Regions from separate parts of the Homo sapiens genome. Here all the other regions are linked to region 3. Evidence: promoter capture Hi-C in human tissues and cell types (Jung and others, 2019). All regions are on one chromosome and are shown on one strand. Each heading gives the region's core, a stretch centred on a gene start or on the middle of the fragment in contact. The rest is flanking DNA. Distances are from core to core; before and after follow the strand shown.

Region 1 (2,700 bases), core at 14-2,513, 570 kb before region 3:
ATACACCCCCCTATGCTGTCATATTCCTGATCCCTAATGTCACACATCCAGGCTGTAGAGGGCACACATACACACACACGCACACACATACACACCTGTCCTAGCCTCACATTCTCCCACCTAGCTTTACACACCCACCATTTCCTCCATTTCACCCCACACACCTACCCAGCCTGTCCCCACGCACGATCCGGCCAGGGCCACACAAGCCTCCATCTGGGACAACCCTTGTTCAGGACATCCCCAGGGAGGGAGGCTGGGAAGCTCCCGGTCCACAGGCCTCTACTCCTTCCCCTCCCCCAGCCAGGACACGCGAGCTCGGGGAACACCCCTGCTCCGAAAGGGTCACATCACACACCCCTCAAGGACACACAGACACCTGCCCTGAGGCTCCCACGCCCCCCATCTTCTGCGCCCCCCAAGGACACTTATCACCCCCTCCCCCCCACCCCTCTCCTCGCAGACAAAGCTCCCAGCCCCGGGCCTCAGCGAGAGGAGGAGGGGGTCCAGCCCCCTCCTCAACTCCCCGCTCTGTCCCCCGCCTCGGGGAGGGGTGTCTCTCCCCTCCCCAGAGCCCTTGCACCTGCCACGGGAGGGGGGGAAAGGATGGAGAAAGGCGAGGCCCCCTGCCCGCTCCCCCGCCCCGAGCCGCAGCCCTTTCTCACCTCCCGTGTTGCTGCGCTTGGTGCAGACCACCTCGGGGGGCGTTTCGAGGGGCCTCTTGCGGGAATCCGGGGCCTCGGGCTCCATGGGGGGGGCCTGGGGCGGCGGCTGCTGCTGCTGCGGCGGCTGCGGCGGCGGCGGCGGCGGCTGCTGTGGCGGCGGCGACGGCTGCTGGGGAGGCTGGGGTTGCGGCGGCGGCGGCGGCGGGGGCGGCGGCGGCTGCGGGGCCGCGGAGGCCGTGAAGAGGCCGTGCACCGCGCCGGCGGCCATCATCCTCATGGTGGGGGGGGGCGGGGGGCGGGGGGCGGGGGAGGGGGAGGGGAGGGGAGGTGGGAGGGGGAGGGGGCGGTGGAGGGATGGGGGAGGGGGAGCCCCGGAGAGGGAAGGCGGGGGTAGGGGGGAGCCGGTTCTCGGGGGGCTGACAGAGCCTGGAGAGCGGCCGTGAGCAGGATGGCAGGGCCGAGGGGGGTCTCCGATAGGGCCGGGAAAGAACTGAGAGGTGGGGTCTCTCCTGGGACCACAGAGGCTGGGGACTGGACGCGCCACTGGGGGGACGGGACTCCCCGCTTCTTCTTGGCTCCCTGGGGCAAGAGGGCCGAGCCCCCCAGACCCTGCTCGGGGTGGGGGGCCGGAGGAGCGTGGCCGGAGTGGGAGGCGGAGGCGGCCGCTAGTGGGGGCCCGGGGGGCGGCGGGCGCGGGCGGCGGCGGCGACGGGGCTGGCGGTGGCTGCTGGCCCGAGCATCTTCTTCCCGGAGGCTCCCACAGCGCCTGGCCCCTCCCACCCAACGAGGTCACGCCCATGCCGGGTAGGGCCACGCCCTTCGGCGCCCCCATTGGTCCAGCCTTGAAGCCTGGACCACGTCCCTCTGGGTTGGCCACGCCCCTCCCGGCGGCAGAGAGCTGGACCCGACTCCCCCAGGCTGCTGGGAGGACCCCGGGCTCCTCCAAGCCGTCCCCACTCCTCACCTTGAATGAACGTTTATTGAGCACTTACTGTGTGCCAGGTCCGGTTCCAAGCAAGCACGTCACAGACGTTATCGCATTTACTCCCCAGAGCGACCAGCTCTGTGAGTTACGCTTATTATCCCTATTTTACAGATGAGGAAACAGCCTTAGGAGCTTACTTTGACTTCACTTGGTCAAGACAAGAAATTTCGACTAGGCGCGGTGGTTCATGCCTGTCATCCCAGCACTTTGGGAGGCCGAGGCGGAAGAATCACTTGAGCCCAGGAGTTTGAGACGAGCTGGGCAACAATATTGTGAGACCCCATCTCTACAAAAAAAAAATTTTTTTTTTAATTAGCCAGGCGTGGTAGCACATGCTTGTAGCCCCAGGTACTCTGGAGTCTGAGGTGGGAGGATCTCTTGAGCACAGGAGTTTGAGGCTGCAGTCAGCCATGATCAAGCAACTAGATTCGAGCCTGGGAGACAGAGCAAAACCTTGTCTCAAAAAAAAAAAAAAAAAAGAAAGAAAGAAAGAGAAAGAAATTTCACTTCACTCTTTTTCAATCCTTTCAGCTGGGAAATTCCCCTTCAAATCTTTCATCCATCCTTTGAAGAATCAACACCGTGATGCTGAAAGGGCTCAGAGGATTGAATTCACTGAGCTGGAGTTGCAGCCTGCAGCACCTGCCCTGGGGCACAACTGGCTCTCCATTCAAACAACAGCACTCAGGGCCTACCTACTAAGTGCCAGGCACTGTCCCTGATGCTGCGATACAATAGAGAACAAAACAGCCTTGGCCCTTGTACAGTATTACTACTCATGTCATTAAGAAAAATTTGTTTTCAGATGACAAAGTGGAGGCCTGGGAACATTGAGGGTGGCTTCTTCAAGGGCACACAGCTTGAGAGAGAGAAACTGGGATGAGAACGCAGGACAAGTCCAATTTCAGAGCCCAAAGTCATTGGAACTAGGGTGCCTTTCTTTGGAATGGATCATTGCTATTATTCTGTGTTCCTTGATGCAAGAATTTCCTTCTCCCTGGGTTCTTAACCTCCAAGGAATCTTTCCTTCCTGGGTTGGTCAGAGGCAAG
Region 2 (2,700 bases), core at 124-2,623, 520 kb before region 3:
ACCTACACTAGCCCTGGTCCCTGCTCTGCGGGGGGAAGCCTCCCATGGCTCCCATCTCGGAGTAAAAGCTACAGTCCTCACTGTGGTCCACAAAGCCCTGCCTGGTCCTGCCCTTTCCTCATTTCATTCCGCTCGCCCGGCTGTGTTCAGCCACCCTGTCCTTCCCACAGGACCCGCCCACTCAACCCCGTTGGCTTTGCCCCCAGCACCCCCTGCCACCTGCAGGCCTCTGTCTGCTCCCCCATCCCAGAGCCAAGGCAGCCACTCTCAGGGAGGCTTTCCCTTGCCCCACCCTTCCAAGGAGCCTGTGTGGGTCTGGTCCCAGCCTGAGGTCACCCTCCCTCACCTCTTTCCTTTTATCCATCGCCTCTATCACCGTCTGAATTCACCTGTGGCCTTGGCTTGTTTCTCCCTGCTGGTCTTTCAACCCCAGGAGGCTAGAGTGGCACCGTTCTCCATGCCACATCTGGCACACTGCCTGGCACATAGTAGGTGCCTAATGGTAATAGCCCGTGGCTTTGCGGGCCCCCGTGTGCCAGGCAGTTCCTAGGTGCTTTGCCTGTATTGGCTCATATAAGGAGCAGATGGGCCGCGATTCCATTGACTTTGCCGAGGAGGAAGCTGAAGCCGGGAGGACCCGCCCCAGGCCTCAGCCAGCAATAAGATGAGCTGACCCTGGAACCCAGCTCCGCACTGAGTCAGCCTGGTTTTCCGCCTCCTAACAAAGGCACCAGGCATCAGGAAGGGGCGCCTTCATAAGGCGTCGCGGACACCTTGGTGTGTGTTAGGCAAAGCCTGCCCCTTCTTCCCGGGAGCGGGAGCGGGGCTTGGATTTCAGCCCATCCCCCCTTCTCACGCATCTTTGTGCTGTGAGCACCTGCCCCGGCCCACGTGGTGACCCGAGGAAGAAATGACCTTGTGAGGTTCAGTAAGCTGCTCAGGGTGTCAGCCAGGTGGCCTCAGCACCAGGCCTAGAAATGGTCCCGCTGGCGGGCACTTGCACACCTTTGCCTCTGGGATCCCCAGTCCAGCCCGTGCCCCCCTGCCACACTCACTTGTAGCCCACGTCGCACCAGCCCAGTGTCTTCATGTGGTAGTGCTGCACATTCCGGGCCTGCTGCTGGCACGAGGCGGGGGTGTTGCAGCTGCTGCCCGCCGTGTGCGATACCACCACATAGCGTAAGGGCAGGCTCAGGTGCTGGGCGCACTCTGATGCCAGGGCCTTCCACTCGTTCCGGGGCACTATGGGGCTGCAGCAGGCCGGGTCTTCTGTCTCCTGAGCCGCTCCGAGTCGAAGGAGGCTGGGGAGAGCCCAGGCAAGCAGCATAGAGCGGCGGGACATAGTGGCAGGGCGGCAGGGTCCGGGAGACCGCTAGGAGCGCCCGGTGGAGGGGCCGCCTTTATCTGCTGGGGGATTCCAGGAGTGGCCCGGAAAGTCTTGCTTCACACCCTGCTGGGACTTCCTGCTGGCCCAGCAGACCCCAGACTCAGCTTCCTTCTCTGGCTGGGCCAGGGCGGGATGCACTGTGGTTGGGGTCTGGGTCACGCCCACGGCAATGACAGGCCCCCTCGCTCAGCAGGGAGGGACGCACAGGCCCCTGGGCGCTTCGCCCCGCCGTTTCTGGAAGACCCGGGGCCGGGATCCCGGTCCTGCTTGTCTCTCCTCTCAGTGGAACATTGAACAACTCAACAGGAACTTACATCGCAGAGGCCCGGGGCATTGGCACATCTTCTCCCCGCAAGGACTGAGGTAACAAAGCTACCCATTTTAAAAACACTTCCTTCCCCCAGGTCCAAGCCTGATGCCATTTACGCTTGCAGCAAACTCAAGAGGTGAGTATCTGGAAGTCCATTTCACAGTGGAGTAAACTGAGGTTGAGAGCAGGGAAGTCACGGGCTGAGACACCGGAGGCACTGGAGCCCCGCGTCTAGAGCCAGGCTGCCTGCATGTGAATCCTGGATATGCAGTGTGTGAGAGCCTGCAAGTGGTTTTTAAAAATGTGTATTTAAAATTTTTTTTTTAATTTTCTATTTTATAAATAATATTTTCCTTTTTTTTTTTTTTTTTTTTTGAGATGGAGTTTTGCTCTTGTCACCCAGGCTGGAGTGCAATGGTGCGATCTTGGGCCACTGCAACCTCCGCCTCCTGGCTTCAAGTGATTCTCCTGCCTCAGCCTCCTGAGTAGCTGGGATTACAAGTGCACACCACCACGCCCAGCTAATTTTTATATTTTTGGTAGAGACGGGGTTTTGCCATGTTGGCCTGGCTGGTGTCGAACTCCTGACCTCAGGTGAGCCACCTGCCAGTGTTCCAGAGTGCTGGGATTACTATAGGCATGAGCCACCGTGCCTGACCTGTGTGGTGTGTTTTCATCTTCTGTGTTCTGCCTTCTCATATACATTGTACTCATGCTGTTACTGAATTGTGCACCAGGCATCTGTAGCACTTTTCAGAAATTATCATATACTCAACGACAAGCTTGCCAGATCCATGTTATTATTAACCCCTCTTACAGTTGACGGAACTGAGGCCCGGGGGGATGATCACATACAGGAGGTGATGAAGCCAGGGTTTGGCTACAGGCTTTCTGCCTGCAGAGTTATAAACCGTATTCTCCTCCCTACAAACTTATATAAGGACATTAAAAAAAAAAATCAAAACCATGTGCATCAATTTACCTTTTGTCACCTAATATTTCA
Region 3 (2,744 bases), core at 176-2,675:
TGATTATTTGTTGCTATGGTGACCAGGAGGTTAAATAGCATCTCTGTATTTCCTAAAGAATAAATACTGGTTGGTTTTCTCTGGCAAATCAGAAAAGGATCATTTCTCTCCTTCCATGATCATGATGCAATAAAAGCCTAGGGCTCTTCTAGATTTATATTTTATCAAAGAAAGTGAGAGTCTTGTCTTATCCAAATTAACAGAAGCACTTAGTCCAGTGTCCAGTCGCTTGAGTGGCGGTGGCCACTCTCGGAAGGGCAATTACAAACTGTACTAATAGTAAGTCCAGCGCGCCATCTGGTGGCCAATTAGAGAATAGCATGACCGTATCTACTTAAACTAAAAGGCGACTCACCTCCCTTCTTGTCTGTTAAGGCTGCCCTAGCAAATTAATACAATAAGCTTGTTCCTGTTGGTCTTAGTCTGATTGAGAAAGAACCCTTGACTGCTTTGACCCATAGAATATGACAGATGTGACACTGTGCTGGGCATGGCGGCTCACGCCTGTAATTCCAACACCGAGAAGCAGAGGTGGGCGGATCGCTTGATCCCAAGACTGCAAGACCAACCTGGGCAACACAGAAAGACCCCAACTCTACTAAAAATAACTTTTTTGTTTTGTTGTGAGACGGAGTTTCGCTCTTGTCGCCCAGGCTGGAGTGCAATGGCGTGATCTCGGCTCACCACAGACTCCGCCTCCTGGGTTCAAGCGATTCTCCTGCCTCAGCCTCCCGAGTAGCTGGAATGACAGGGGTCCGCCACCGCACGTGGCTAATTTTGTATTTTTAGTAGAGACAGGGTATATCCATGTTGGTCAGGCTGGTCTTGAACTCCCGACTTCCACCCACCTCCGCCTCCCAAACTGTTGGGATTACAGGCGTGAGCCACCACTCCCGGCCAAAAATATAACTTTTAAAAATAGGCTGGCGTGGTGGCCCGCACCTGTAGTCCCAGCTACTCGGGAGGCTGAGGCAAGAGGATCCCTTGAGCCTAGGAGGTAGAGGCTGCGGTGAGCTATGATGGCGCCGCTGCACTCCAGCCTGGGTGACAGAACGAGACCCTGTCTAAACAAACAAACAAACAAACAAACAAGTGACACCGCCAGGCCTGGATCTACATTTTAAGGGAACCAGCAGATTCCGTCGTGATCTCTTTGGCTCCCAGGCTACTGTGTAAGAATTGCAACTCCCCAGCCGGGCGCGGTGGCTCACGCCTGTAATCCCAGCACTTTGGGAGGCCAAGGCGGCGGATCACGAGGTCAGGAGATCGTGACCATCCTGGCTAACACGGTGAAACCCCGTCTCTACTAAAAATACAAAAATTAGCCGGGCGTGGTGGCAGGCGCCTGCAGTCCCAGCTACTCGGGAGACTGAGGCAAGAGAATGGTGTGAACCCAGGAGGTGGAGCTTTCAGTGAGCCCAGATCGCGGCCACTGCACTCCAGCCTAGGCGACAGAGCGAAACTCCGTCTCAAATAAATAAATAAATAAATAATAAAAAAAGAATTGCAGCTCCCCTAAGAGCATGGAGCTGTGAGAAGGCCCAGGAGAATTGAAGCTTCCAGACATGGGAGTGAAGAAGCCATCTTGGAGGTGGGTCCTCCAGCCCTCATCACATGATGCCACGTGGAACAGAAATGAACATCCAGTCAAACCCTTTTCACATTCCTGACCCACAAAATCCTGAACAAGCTTGGGAATTAAGCTATTACTGTGCCATTTTTTGTTGTTGTTGTTTTTGTTTTTTCTTTTTGTTTTGTTTTGGGTTTTTTTTTTTTTTTTTTTTTTTGGTTTTCTGGGTTTTATTTGAGATAGAGTTCTGCTCTTGTTGCCCAGGCTGGAGTGCAATGGCACTATCTCGGCTCACTGCAACCTCCGCCTCCTGGGTTCAAGTGATTCTCCTGCCTCAGCCTCCTGAATAGCTGAGATTACAGGTGCCCACCACCACGCCCGGCTAATTTTTGTATTTTTAGTAGAGACAGTGTTTCGCCACGTTGGCCAGGCTGGTCTCAAACTCCTGACCTCAAGTGATCCGCCCACCTCGGCCTCCCAAAATGCTGGGATTACAGGCGTGAGCCACCGCCTGCGGCCATTGTGCCACTTTTATAGAGGAGGAGATTGAGGTTCAGAGGCCCAGTTGATGGTCCAAGATCACACACTGGGAAGTACTGGAACCAGGGTTATGAAATCCTGTCTGCTTGGCTGCAAAGCCTCTACTCTTCCACACTGCATTATTTAGGAAGACAGACAGGCTTTGGGCACGAGCGTGGGCCTCACTGAGGGGAGAGGGGCCTTCTGGCCTCAGTAATATCCCTGTTCCCTTCTCTGACTGTCACTTCCCCCTTAGAGACAGAGTTTCTGCAGAGTGGAGTCTCTTCTCACGCCTGGGAGAGTTTGTGCAGGAGACATGAGAGCTGAAGATCTGGCACCACCTTTGCCTTAAAGACAAAAGGTGACATTTGGGAAAAGCATGCCACTCTTCGAGTGGTACTTAAGGATCCATGGGCTGAATCTGCCTTTTTTTCCCCAACTGATTTGGCAAGGACCTTCAAATAAATCCAGTGGAGCTTCTTGGGGCAGCATGGCCCACTCTCAAGAGTTTAGCCTTTGAGTCATGTGTGGTGGCTCGTGCCTATAATCCCAGCACTTTGGGAGGCCGAGGCAGGCTCACTTGAGGTCAGGAGTTCAAGACCAACCTAGCCAACATGGTGAAACCCCATCTCTGCTAAAAATACAAAAATCAGCT

What was found. Contacts are between HindIII fragments. The study calls those that stand out against the background at their distance.
Region 1: the fragment with the promoter of NOVA2 here is called in contact with a fragment that was not itself captured in region 3 in 3 of the 25 tissues and cell types used here (aorta, dorsolateral prefrontal cortex and mesenchymal stem cells).
Region 2: a contact is called between the fragment with the promoter of PGLYRP1 here and a fragment that was not itself captured in region 3, in 2 of the 25 tissues and cell types used here (aorta and dorsolateral prefrontal cortex).

Annotation. Positions count from the first base shown.
Region 1 is chr19:45,972,602-45,975,301 of GRCh38, forward strand. It overlaps NOVA2 (NOVA alternative splicing regulator 2), which reads right to left and starts at 1,264. Exons shown (of 4, transcript NM_002516.4): 1 at 666-1,264. The coding sequence starts at 750. RefSeq lists a silencer at 1,430-1,589. The HindIII fragment of the contact is 35,305 bases long and covers 1-2,700 here.
Region 2 is chr19:46,021,680-46,024,379 of GRCh38, forward strand. It overlaps PGLYRP1 (peptidoglycan recognition protein 1), which reads right to left and starts at 1,374. Exons shown (of 3, transcript NM_005091.3): 1 at 1,056-1,374. The coding sequence starts at 1,342. RefSeq lists an enhancer at 1-867. The HindIII fragment of the contact is 20,258 bases long and covers 1-2,700 here.
Region 3 is chr19:46,542,569-46,545,312 of GRCh38, forward strand. It overlaps the pseudogene PPP5D1P. Among named protein-coding and RNA genes, the nearest start is that of PNMA8B, 48 kb to the left of the region's middle. The HindIII fragment of the contact is 3,360 bases long and covers 1-2,744 here.